Regions from separate parts of the Homo sapiens genome. Here region 1 is linked to region 2. The links are contacts of gene promoters, found by promoter capture Hi-C in human tissues and cell types (Jung and others, 2019). All regions are on one chromosome and are shown on one strand. Each heading gives the region's core, a stretch centred on a gene start or on the middle of the fragment in contact. The rest is flanking DNA. Distances are from core to core; before and after follow the strand shown.

The links. The method cuts DNA at HindIII sites, captures the fragments that hold promoters and counts their contacts. A contact is called where the count stands out against the background at its distance.
Region 1: a contact is called between the fragment with the promoter of COPS6 here and the fragment with the promoter of PVRIG in region 2, in 1 of the 25 tissues and cell types used here (adrenal gland).

Annotation. Positions count from the first base shown.
Region 1 is chr7:100,085,430-100,090,785 of GRCh38, reverse strand. It overlaps COPS6 (COP9 signalosome subunit 6), which reads right to left and starts at 1,817. Exons shown (of 10, transcript NM_006833.5): 1 at 1,720-1,817; 2 at 1,371-1,496; 3 at 1,040-1,171; 4 at 299-387; 5 at 132-194. The coding sequence starts at 1,795. RefSeq lists enhancers at 220-1,419, 926-1,617, 3,004-3,697 and a silencer at 1,768-1,957. The HindIII fragment of the contact is 6,643 bases long and covers 1-5,356 here.
Region 2 is chr7:100,218,120-100,223,884 of GRCh38, reverse strand. It overlaps PVRIG (PVR related immunoglobulin domain containing), which reads right to left and starts at 3,936. Exons shown (of 5, transcript NM_001397246.1): 1 at 3,857-3,936; 2 at 3,421-3,771; 3 at 3,212-3,338; 4 at 3,065-3,125; 5 at 2,395-2,957. The coding sequence starts at 3,914. The coding sequence ends at 2,634. It also overlaps a transcript of STAG3 not described here and the pseudogene CASTOR3P. RefSeq lists enhancers at 2,177-2,276, 2,297-2,396, 3,787-3,856, 3,917-4,046 and a silencer at 2,817-2,866. The HindIII fragment of the contact is 32,066 bases long and covers 1-5,765 here.

The sequences.
Region 1 (5,356 bases), core at 568-3,067, 130 kb after region 2:
AGTTTGGAGATTAAATGACTAAGCCAGAGTCACAGCTGGTAAGTGGCATCTGGCATTCCCCAATAGAGGAGTGTCACACAGTAAAAGGTATAGCGACAATCATGACAGAGTAGGCATGGAGTATTACTCACATCTGTGTGCTTGGTCATAGGGTTCAACTTCAGAAAGAGGGGGCTCTCGATGATCTCACACACCTGGAAGAGAGGGACAATGCACAGGAAGTCAGTGCCCCCTACCTTTCTCCTTCCCCTCATTCTCCATTCTCTGCCCCAGCATGCACAGGTGTGAGCATGCATACCTGCTTATGGACGTGGATGTCCGAGGGGTCAGGTGGCCCCCCTGTGGTATACCAACCCAGAAACTCCAGCTCCTTGAACACCTGTTTAACTAGAGGGGAAGGGGCCAGAACATATAGTAATTCTTTTTTTTTTTTTTTCTGAGACGGAATCTCGCTCTGTTGCCCAGGCTGGAGTGCAGTGGCATGATCTCAGCTCACCACAACCTCCGCCTCCCAGGTTCAAGCAATTCTCCTGCCTCAGCATCCCGCGTAGCTGGGACTACAGGCACGCACCACCATGCCAGACTAATTTTTGTATTTTTAGTAGAGGTGGGGTTTCACTATGTTTGCCAGGCTGGTCTTGAACTCCTGACCTCATGATCCACCCACCTCGGCCTCCCAAAGTGCTGGGATTAGAGGCATGAGTCACTGAGCCCGGCCTGACATAGTAATTCTTTAAACCATCCTTCCTCAATGTGAAGCTCCTGGTGTATTTTCACCAGCTTCTCTCCTCCCTCCTCAAATCCTGGCTCAGTTTAGAATAACTACTCCCTTCTATCCTGTCTCCTCTCATCCTTTGCTTTCTTTTGAGAAAGAACTCTGAACGTTTTCTTTTTCTGAGATCTCTCCAGCTACTCTTCACTTTTTCTCCCCTGTTCTTGGTCTCCTCTCCTGTTTCTTTCCAACCCTCTCCATCTTCCCCACCCTGTACATTTTTTTTTTAACTCCCACTCCTCTTCCCCACATCTATTCCACTCTCACACTGCTCCTCCTTGGTGTAATAATATTCCTTGTCAATGATAATCTTCTCTTCCACGGTGTGGGACAGCAGCTCAAAGGAGTTCATCACCTCGATATTTCGGCCCTCCTGCTTGCCAATCAGAGCCCCAATCACTGGGAAAGAGAATGACATGGAAAAGGTGAGGGTAAAGAAACTTCTATGACCTGAGGGTCTGAGATCAGTGGGAACCATGTATTGGGGAAACGATGATTTGGGGGAGGGGGAATTGGCTCCAGTAGAGGAAGGGGAAAAGACCACTGCCTGGGGGAGGTGAGCAAGGAGAAGAGACTGGAGTCTATGCCCAACACTCACCCTGCACAGGCCGCCCCTCCTGGGAGCGCATGCGGATCCAGTGGTCTGAGATGTTGAGAATGACAAGGGGATGGAGAGCGACGGAAACACTCCCAGTCACTCCGCAGGCCATCACGCTGGGGACTACTAAGGGTGGAGGGAAAGGAGAGAGGGTGAGAGTCCGGGCCCCACGTTCTTCCCTGGAGATGGCAGTGGGGGACGGCGGAGCCCGGGCCACACTTTCCTCCCGTAACTTATCCCAGGGAAAGATGTTGCTGCTCCGCCCTCCTCCCTTCTCCCGGGAGCACAGGGAGGCCTCAACGAACCCCTGAAGGAGGTCTCCGGAAGCCACCCCCGCACGGCCCGTTACCTGCTGCATCCACCTCCATCCCGCTGCTTCCTCCGGTCCCGTTCGTAGCTGCAGCCGCCGCCGCCGCCGCCGCCATTTTCCCCGCGCCCGCCAGCCTCGGCCCCGCCCCCTTCCTTCCCGGCTTCCGTAAGGCGAGCGGCGCATGTTCGGTGTCCCCGCGGCGTGCGGCGGGCCTGGCGTCCGGGGAGCAGGCAGTTCCCGGGTCGCGGCGGGCGGCACTCGGTGCGGGGACGCCCGACGCCCTCTGGGCCTCGGTGCCTAGCGGGTTTTCCCAGACCCTGTCCCCGCCTGTCGCCTGCGGGTGACCTTTGACAAATTAACGACTTGATCGTCCTCGTCTGTGAAATTGGGATAAGAACGCCTAGTTCTTAAGGCTGTTGCAGAAGGAATGACATGTCGTGTTATTTCCCTCACAATAAAATCCAAACAACTAACCACAACCTGCAAGGCCCTGCCTGATCTGGCCCCGGCCTGGCCTCTTCTAGCCCTTGATCTTCAGGCTTCAGCTGCACTGGCCCTCATGTCTGGTGGTGGTGGTGGTTTGTTTTGTTTTGTTTGAGACAGGGTCTCGCTCTGTCGCCCAGGCTGGAGTGCAGTGGCCTGATGTCAGCTCACTGCACCCTCAAACTCCTGGGCTCAAGTGATCCTCCCAGTTCAGCCTCCCGAGTAGCTGGGACTACAGGCGCACCCCACCGCACCCAGCTAATTTTATTATTTGTTTTTATTTTGATAGAGACGGGGGTCTCACTAGGTTGTCCAGGCTGGTCTCCAACTCCCGGGCAGAAGAGATCCTCCATCCTCAGCCTCCCAAAGCACTGGGATTACAGGCATGAGCCACCGCACCCAGCTCTCCGTGTGTTTTTCACATGCTTTAGTTTCCCATTCAAAAGCCTGTGGTTCCTTCTCTTGTTCATCATGGTATCCCCTGTGACCAACACGGTGCCTGACACATTGGAGCCTAGATACTTTTTGAGTGAATGAAGGAATAATTAGGGGTGGAATCTGGTGTTGAGTTAGTTGCTCCATCTTGTGAAAGTTGCAGATACCAGGACAAAATCACATTGTCAGGTCCAAACAAATTGGAGCCATGAGAACACCAAGGAGAAGGTCTCATGCTTGCATGTCTGAGATAGGAATTATCTCAAGGACTTTCGAAAATAACCCCACAAGGCCAGGCATGGTGGCTCACACCTGTAATACCAGCATTTTGGGAGACCGAGGCCAGACAATCACTTGAGGTCAGCAGTTTGAGACGAGCCTAGCCAACATGGTGAAACCCCATCTCTACTAAAAATACAAAAATTAGCCAGGCGTGGTGGCAGGCGCCTGTAATCCCAGCTACTCAGGAGCCTGAGGCAGGAGAATTGCTTGAACCCGGGAGGTGGAAGCTGCAGTGAGCTGCGATCGCGCCACTGCACTCCAGCCCGGGCAAGACAAAGTGAGACTCCATCTCAAAAAAAAAAAAAAAAGAAAGAAAGAAAGAAAGAAAGAAGATAACTCCACAAGGCCAGGCATGGTGACTCACGCCTGTAATCCTAGCACTTTGGGAGGCCAAGGTTGGAGGATCACTTGAACCCAGGAGTTTGAGACCAGCCTTGGCAACATGGTGACACCTTGTTTCAACAAAACATGGAAACAAAATTCGCTGGGTATGGTAGAGGCATGCCGAGGAAATTTATGCTTGGGAAGTGAGTCAAAACTCCCTTCCTTTTTGTTCCCAGATAGCTGTAATTCCACAACCCTGTGTCATAGCCTCATACATAAGCCAGGCTCCTACAATGGCAAAAGGCATATACCTCCCCAGATGGTCTTCCTCACAAATTGCTTGCCAGGAAATTCCTCATTAGCCTCTGAATCTTTCAGCATAAACATTCCCCCTATAAACCAGCCCTAATCCGAGTTCTGTGAAATCTCATACTGACAATGTTGATTACAAGCTTATCTTCCCAATTATAGAACAAGGAAGAGACCAGGAATCATCCCTCCACCTATCCTGAGACAGATGCATAACTGACTTTTTCCTCCACTCCCTCTTTTCAAATGTTTATTGTATCTTACATAAAATGTAGATTTACTGAACACTAATGAGAAACTCACAAAAAAGTAACAATGTGCAGCAGGGTGTGCAGTGGCTCATGCCTGTAATCGCAGCACTTTGGGAAGCGAGTGGATCACTTGAGGCCAGGAGTTCAAGACCAGCCTGGCCAACATGGCAAAACCCCATCTTTACTAAAAATACAAAAATTAGCTGGGTGTGGTGGTGCCCACCTGTAATCTCAGCTACTTGGGAGGCTGAGGCAGGAGAATCACTTGAGCCTAGGAGGTGGAGATTGCAGTGAGCCGAGATGGACCCACTGGACTCCAGCCTGGGCAACAGATTGAGACTCTATTTCAAAAAATAAAATAAAATAACCATTTGCTGGACTGGGTGCAGTGGCTCACGCCTGTAATCCCAGCACTTTGGGAGGCCGAGGCAGGCAGATCACAAGGTCAAGAGATTGAGACTATCCTGGCTAACACTGTGAAACCCCGTCTCTACTAAAAATACAAAATATTAGCTGGGCATGGTGACACGCACCTGTAGTACCAGCTACTTGGGAGGCTGAGGCACAAGAATCGCTTGAACCTGGGAGGCAGCGGTTGCAGTGAGCCGAGATTGCGCCACTGCACTCCAGCCTGCTGACAGAGCGAGACACTGTCTTAAGAAAAACAAAACAAAACAAAACAAAAAACATTTGCCTCACTGCCTCTCCTTCTTCCTTATTTTCCTCTTGCATGCTTTCTTCCCTTAAATACTGAGTTCCTGGCCAGGCACAGTGGCTTATGCTTGTAATCTCAGCACTTTGGGAGGCCGAGGTGGGTGAATCACCTGAAGTCAGGAGTTCAAGACCAGCCTGGTCTCGACCAGTAGAGATGGTGAAACCCCATCTCTACTAAAAATACAAAAATTAGCCAGGCGTGGTGGTGCATGCCTGTAATCCCAGCTACTCGAGAGGCTGAGGGAGGAGAATCACTTGAACCCGGGAGGCGGAGGTTGCAGCGAGCCGAGATCACACCACCACACTCCAGCCTGGTTGACAAAGCAAGACTCTGTCTCATAAAAAAACCCAAAATTCACATCTGGCTAGCCTAGGCTGCTCCACCCCCTCCTTACCCCTAAACCTAAGCAAGTTGCACACACTGCTCCTCCTGCCACCCCTACAAAGAGGGGTACAGACACCTAGAAAGAGCCAGACATACTCTGGCTCTAGGTGTCTGTATCCCCACCCAAAGTGTAAGCTCCTAGAAAGCAGGTGAAGAACTGTGTTATGACCCTGAACAGCCCCATATGGTGATAGTTGTAATTTACAGGGGAATTATGCAATCTCTCCGTTTAGGAGCCTGGATGAAGGAAACTTGAAGGGGCCAGCAACCCTCAATGGAACGGACTTGAGAAATCCTGCAGGAAGAGGGGTCTTCTCGCCAAAGGGAAGTTAAAAAGGAATTTATTTTATTCTAGTCCCCAGTGATAAACCAACCAGGTCTGGACAAACTGAGAGGGTTGTCAAAGAAAAGTACCTAATGCCTTGTTTCTATTTGGAAAAACCAGGTCAGAAAAATGTATCTCTTTGGTGAGATGTTGGCTCACTGCAACCTC
Region 2 (5,765 bases), core at 2,687-5,186:
CTGGTGAGCTGACCATCACAGACACGCCTTGCACACTTGGGCCCGCCTCTGACACACTCACTCCCATCTCCCACCCCTTGCAGCCTTGCCCTTCCACGCTATTCCAGGGTGGGGGCAGAGTCTCAGGGTGAGAGGTTGGTGCCCCAGGGCCACCAGGCACACACAGCCTCAACTTCTTGCCCCTAGGTGCTCAAGCGGGACCTGCCCTTTGTCACCCACACGTTGTCATCAGAGTTCACCATCCTGTGGTCAGTGGCTAGACTGTAGCAGCCGAGAACCTCGGCATCACCAGTGGCTTCGTGAAGCCCAAGCTGGGTGAGCTGGGGGCGGGGGTTTGTGCGGGGAAACCTCACGAAGTTACCAGGCCAAGCCGTAGACCAGCCTTGCTCTCAGCACGGGCTTCTGCCCACTGAGCATGAATGGAGTGCCAGGCAGAACGGGATGCAAAGGGCAAGGTGTGGTGGCTCATGCTTGTAAACCCAGCACTTTGGGAGGCCGAGGCAGGCAATTCACCTGAGGTCAGGAGTTTGAGACAAGCCTGACCAACATGGAGAAACCTGGTCTCTACTAAAAATACAAAATTAGCTGGGTGTGGTGGTGCATATTTGTAATTCCAGCTACTGAGGAGGCTGAGGCAGGAGAATCACTTGAACCCAGGAGGCGGAGGTTGCGGTGAGCCGAGATTGTGCCATTGCACTCCAGTCTGGGCAACAAGAACAAAACTCCATCTCAAAAAAAAAAAAATGTGATGGAAAGGTCCTGGGCAGGCCCTGCTGCCATGTCTAGCAAGGGTGGTGGACGTGCATGCATACAGCAATGGCCAGAGGCCACTCCTGCTGCAATCCCAGGTGTCAGGGTGGGTTTCCCTGGGCAGGGACTGTGGTGCTGAAGCCTGGAACACAGGTAGGAACGGGGCCAGGTGGTGCCAGTTGGGAAGGGCATCCCAGGCAGCCAGCACAGCATGTGCAAAGGCCCAGGGGCCTGAGAGTGAGATGGAGAATCAGGACGGTGGTAATTGGTGGTAGAGGCTGGAGAAGCAGCAGTGAATGAGTCTCTCAGGGCCTGCGGCTGAGCCCTCCCCAGCCCTCTTCCCAGGCCCTGCACTCACCAGAGCTGCTGCTTTCAGTCCCAGCCTCAGTGCCTGACATCTTTGTGCTCTTACAGTCCAGATGCCGGTCATCCACCCACTGTCCAGCCCGAGCAACAGGTTCTGTGTCACCAGCCTGGACCCCGACACGCTGCCTGCTGTTGCCACACTCCTCATGGATGTCATGTCCTACTTCAATGGGTAGGGCTGCCTTGGGCATGAGGGGTCGCCGGCTGGACCAGGGGGAGGCACGGCTCTGCCTAGGAGTCTTAGTCTGACGGGGGAGGCTTTGCCAGGAGCTCATCTGAGGGAAGAGACACAGACCTTCCCTGGAGCTAGTCTGAGCGGGGAGACATGGACCCACCCCGGAACTAATCTGAGTGGGAAGGCAAGGACCCGTTCCAGAGCTAGTCTGAGCGGGGAGACAAAGACCCGCCCCAGAACTAGTCTGAGGTGGGAGACATGGACCTGCCCTGGAGCTAGTCTGAGGTGGGAGACACAGACCCGCCCCGGAGCTAGTCTGATGGGGGAGACACGGACCCGCCCCAGAGCTAGTTTAAATGGGGAGACACAGACCTGCCCTGGAGCTAGTCTGAGGTGGGAGACATGGACCTGCCCCAGAGATAGTCTGAAGGGGGAGACACGGACCAGCCCCAAAGCTGGTCTGAGGTGGGAGACAGGGACCCACCCTGGAACTAGTTTGGGGTGGGAGACACGGACCCGCCCTGGAACTAGGCTGAGGGGGAGACACAGCTCTACCAAGCAGAAAGGTTGGCTCTGGATGGAACATTTTGTGGGGAGTCCCCCATGTCTGTGAAGGCCTCTGCCTTCCCCGAGAGGAGGCGGGGGAAGTGATTGAGGGAAGATTTCAGGTGAGTCCCCCTACTCTCCACACCCTGCCTAACGCCAGCTGTGGAAGGAGGGCATCAGGACCCCAGCCCAGGCCACAGCAGGGAGCCCAGCAGAGGGAAGCCAGGTCAAACCACAGGGACTTCTCTCAGGCCAAAGCCCCAGGAACCCTTGCTGTTGTCCTAGAACATGGTGGGATTGGAGCAGAGACCATCCCACTGGGATCCCCCAGCCCTATCTAGGCAGCCACAGGTGTCCCTCAGGAAGCTCCCCCAACACCCCTGCCACTCTGAGAAGCCAGGACAGATCTCTAAGATTGGGACACTGCCCTCTCCCTGGGCCAACCCCAGCCCTGCAATGAGGCCCCAACCCACTCTGGTTCTCACCTGGCTTCTGCCTCCCAGGGGTGGAGACTGCCTCCCCACTCTCTTCACCCCCAAAGAAGAAGCACAGCCGAGGCCGACATCAGAGAAACTGTGTTGCTGACTTAGTTGCAGCAGGAAATGACTGAAATGGGGTAACTGTCACTCACACACTCACACCTGTGCCCACACACGCACACACAGAGACCACATCCGCAGCAGGTGGGCCTGGCCAGACACCTATGGGACACTTATTGGAGGCCCAAGAATTAAAGTAAGGGGGTGACACCCAGGAGGCCTGGGAGGGGGAAAGCCCAGTGGCCTCATGGTCTCTCTCATCGAACTCCTAAGGGTCCTTCCATGGCCCTGGGCCCCCGAGGGTCAGGGAAAAGAGTGAGGCCGGGACCAGTGTGAGGAGGCCTCTCCCCTGCCTGAGCGTAGAGTCCATTCTCAACAGAGACAAAGCTGCCACGTGCAGGGATGGGTGTGGAGGCCCAGGCGGCAGGGCCCTGGGGCCGGTGTGCAGCGTGGGTGGGGAGTGACGCCCACCAGGACGGCCCCCCATGGGGGTGAGCTGTGTCCAAAGTAGCTGGGCGGCAGCTGGTGTTGATAGTGGCATAAGGGACGTGAAGAGCAGCCTGGGAGGCCTGGCTTGGTGCCTGCGCGGGGGAAGGAGGGTCAAGTGAGTCTGCACAGCTTGGGCCCAGCCCTGGCCCCCCTGCCCCTGCCCCTGTCACCTCATCCCCAAAGCAGGTCCCCTCCTCACCCATGCTCGTGCTCTCGGTGCCTGGGGGCTGGTGCGGGACGGCTGGAGCCTAGGGGCAGGGCTGGGAGAGAGCAAGGATGGTCAGAGCTCTGCAGGGCATGTGGCCATCCCAGTGTCAGGGGGACGTGGACAGGGACCAGGTCTCACCGGTGCTTATGTCGGCGCAGCAGATGAAGGAGGTAGACACAGCCAAAGAGGAGGACTCCTGAGACCCCCAAGATCCCGGCCAGGTCTGCCCGCAGAATGGGGGCAGGAGTCGGCGGGGCAGAGAGCCCTGGGCACGGAGACAAGAATCAGATGGGTGGCCAGTTCCCGAGCCCCTCCCTGCCCTCCTGGACCCCTCGCCCCGGCCCCACCTGGGTCTGAGCTGGGCGGGAGGCTCCCACAGGCCTCCCAGGAGCCCTCAGGGAAGGACGCAAACTTGCAGCAGAAGGTGGTGTTGGCGCAGGGGCTGCTGGCCCCAGAGCCTTCCAGGATGAGAGAGATGCTGCTCTGGGTTTCCCAGCGGGCCTGGCGAGCAGGGGCCCATTGCCGGATGCCACGTTCTGGGTGCAACACAGCCAGCGTGGTCCCCCCAGCACCGTTGGGGCCCCCCCAGCTCACAGTCACCAGGGAGATGGAGCCAGACCCCAGGAACCCACAACGGATGGTGAAGGACGAGAGCTCGGTGGCCTCCATCCGAACTTGAACCCACACCTCCGGGGTCCCTGTGGAACAGCAGCAAGGTCGGTGGGCTGTTGTCCTACATCACCCTCCCTGCAGCCCCTGCCCCTCTCTGGTGCCGGCACTCACCCGCAGTGACACACAAGGTCAGCAGCACCCAGGGCAGGACCAGGGTCCGGTGCCCCATGGCCCCCTCCAGTCCAGGTTCTGGGGGCTGCAGGGCCGGCACCTGTGCCTCTGTTCTCATCGCAGGAAGTCTTCATGTTGTCAGCAGCCAAACAGCCACTTCCTTCTCTCCTCTCACACCTTCCCCAGAGGTGGTGAGCACAAAGTGGCTGATTCCCTTCTTAAAGTGACAGTGAGGGCCTGCTCAGTCCCCAAGGCTGTGCTTCCAGGTAACAAGGCAGGGCGGCACAGGTGGGTGAGAACCCAGCCCTGGCTAGGCCTGGGGAGGCCAGGGGAGGGGCAGAGAAGCTGTCAGGGGCTAGAAGGACTCCCCTTCCCTGGACAGCAAGGGGTGCCGGGCTTCCCTAAGAAAGGGCTCTGTCCCGCCCCTCACCCAGCTAAGGAATCGGAGGAGAAAGCCCCTGGGAGTGGGAAGCCAGCAGGGAGGACCTGAGAGCCAGCCCAGCATGCATGACCCACTACCAATCTGATGTGGGTCCCACGCTTACACCTGCAATGCAGGCCTCCCCCACAACCCCCAGCCTGGCTCGCCCACTACCCACTCATACCTCCTGATCTACCCTGAACGCACCCCATACTGGGCTCTGCCCCAGGCGCTGTCTCCTCGTCATAGGTGATGGCAACTGGCTTCTGGCTGCTCGGGCCCAAAGCACAGCCACCAGTGCCTCTTCCCTTTCACTTCCAACGCACCAAGATTGTGTCAGCAAACAGCAGTCCTCTGCCCTAGCAGTGCAGAAGCCAGGAGTTGAACCCATGTCTCTCACCAGGTTAAGCTGCCTCGCTAAGTTTGGATGTGACCTCAGAAACAGAGGCTACTCCAGCAATACAAGATACTTTATTTTTCGGCTTCTACCTATGCCACCCAATCCCTTCACTGGGCCTAACTTAGTGAATCAAATTAAGTATATTTCCCTCCAAGTTGCCCCAGGATTCTGGGCTCCTTTGCACACTACAGGTTTTCTCTAAACGCCCTGGGTTTATCTATCCTTTGGTGAATTTTCAACTCTTCTTATTTCTCTGCCCTGTCCTGACCAAAAATCTTCAGTGCCTGTTTCTCTCTGCCATCCAAATCCCACACACATCTAGGGGTGAATCGGTGAATCTGCGCTGATGAGTGACACGTTTTGTGAATCCTTTCTAGGATCTCAGTATTTCATCCTATCCCGAGGGAAGGCTCTAAAGAGCTCAAGGAAGACCTCACGATGTCTATGTGTGAGAAGAAACCTTTCACCCCTTCACTATCACACCCCATCATCCAAGCACACACTCCTCTTTCATCCCATAAACCCCAGTCAGTGTCACCTGGAGTTATAAGGATGCGGTGACTTACCTAGTAACGGAAGACTCTCAGTAATCTGAAAAAGAAAAATCCCTTCACTTTATAACTGAGGAGATAACACCAACAAGTCACTTCCAGCAGAGCTCATGGCCACAGTGCAAGTTAAAAAAGGTAAAGCCTTATTGAAAATAATCTTAAAACAATTATTCAATATTAACAGACAATGCCCAGCAGTGCCATGTGGGAGGCAAGCCACCCAGCTGCCAAGGCAAGAGACCGAGGGCACAAGCTGTTCCAGTATAATAAAGAAAATACATAGAATAAGAATAGTTATACTAGAAATAGATTATAGCTATGATTATATATATTACTAATCATTAGTTTATAGCATAACTCTTTATTCCAATATTATAATAATCTTTGTTCTACAATTATAACCTAGGAAAAACCAGGCCATACAGAGATAGGAGCTGAAGGGACATGCTGAGAAGTGACCAGAAGGCAGGAGTGTGAACCCTCTGTCATGCCCGGACAGGGCCACTAGAGGGCTCCCTGGTCTAGTGGTAATGCCAG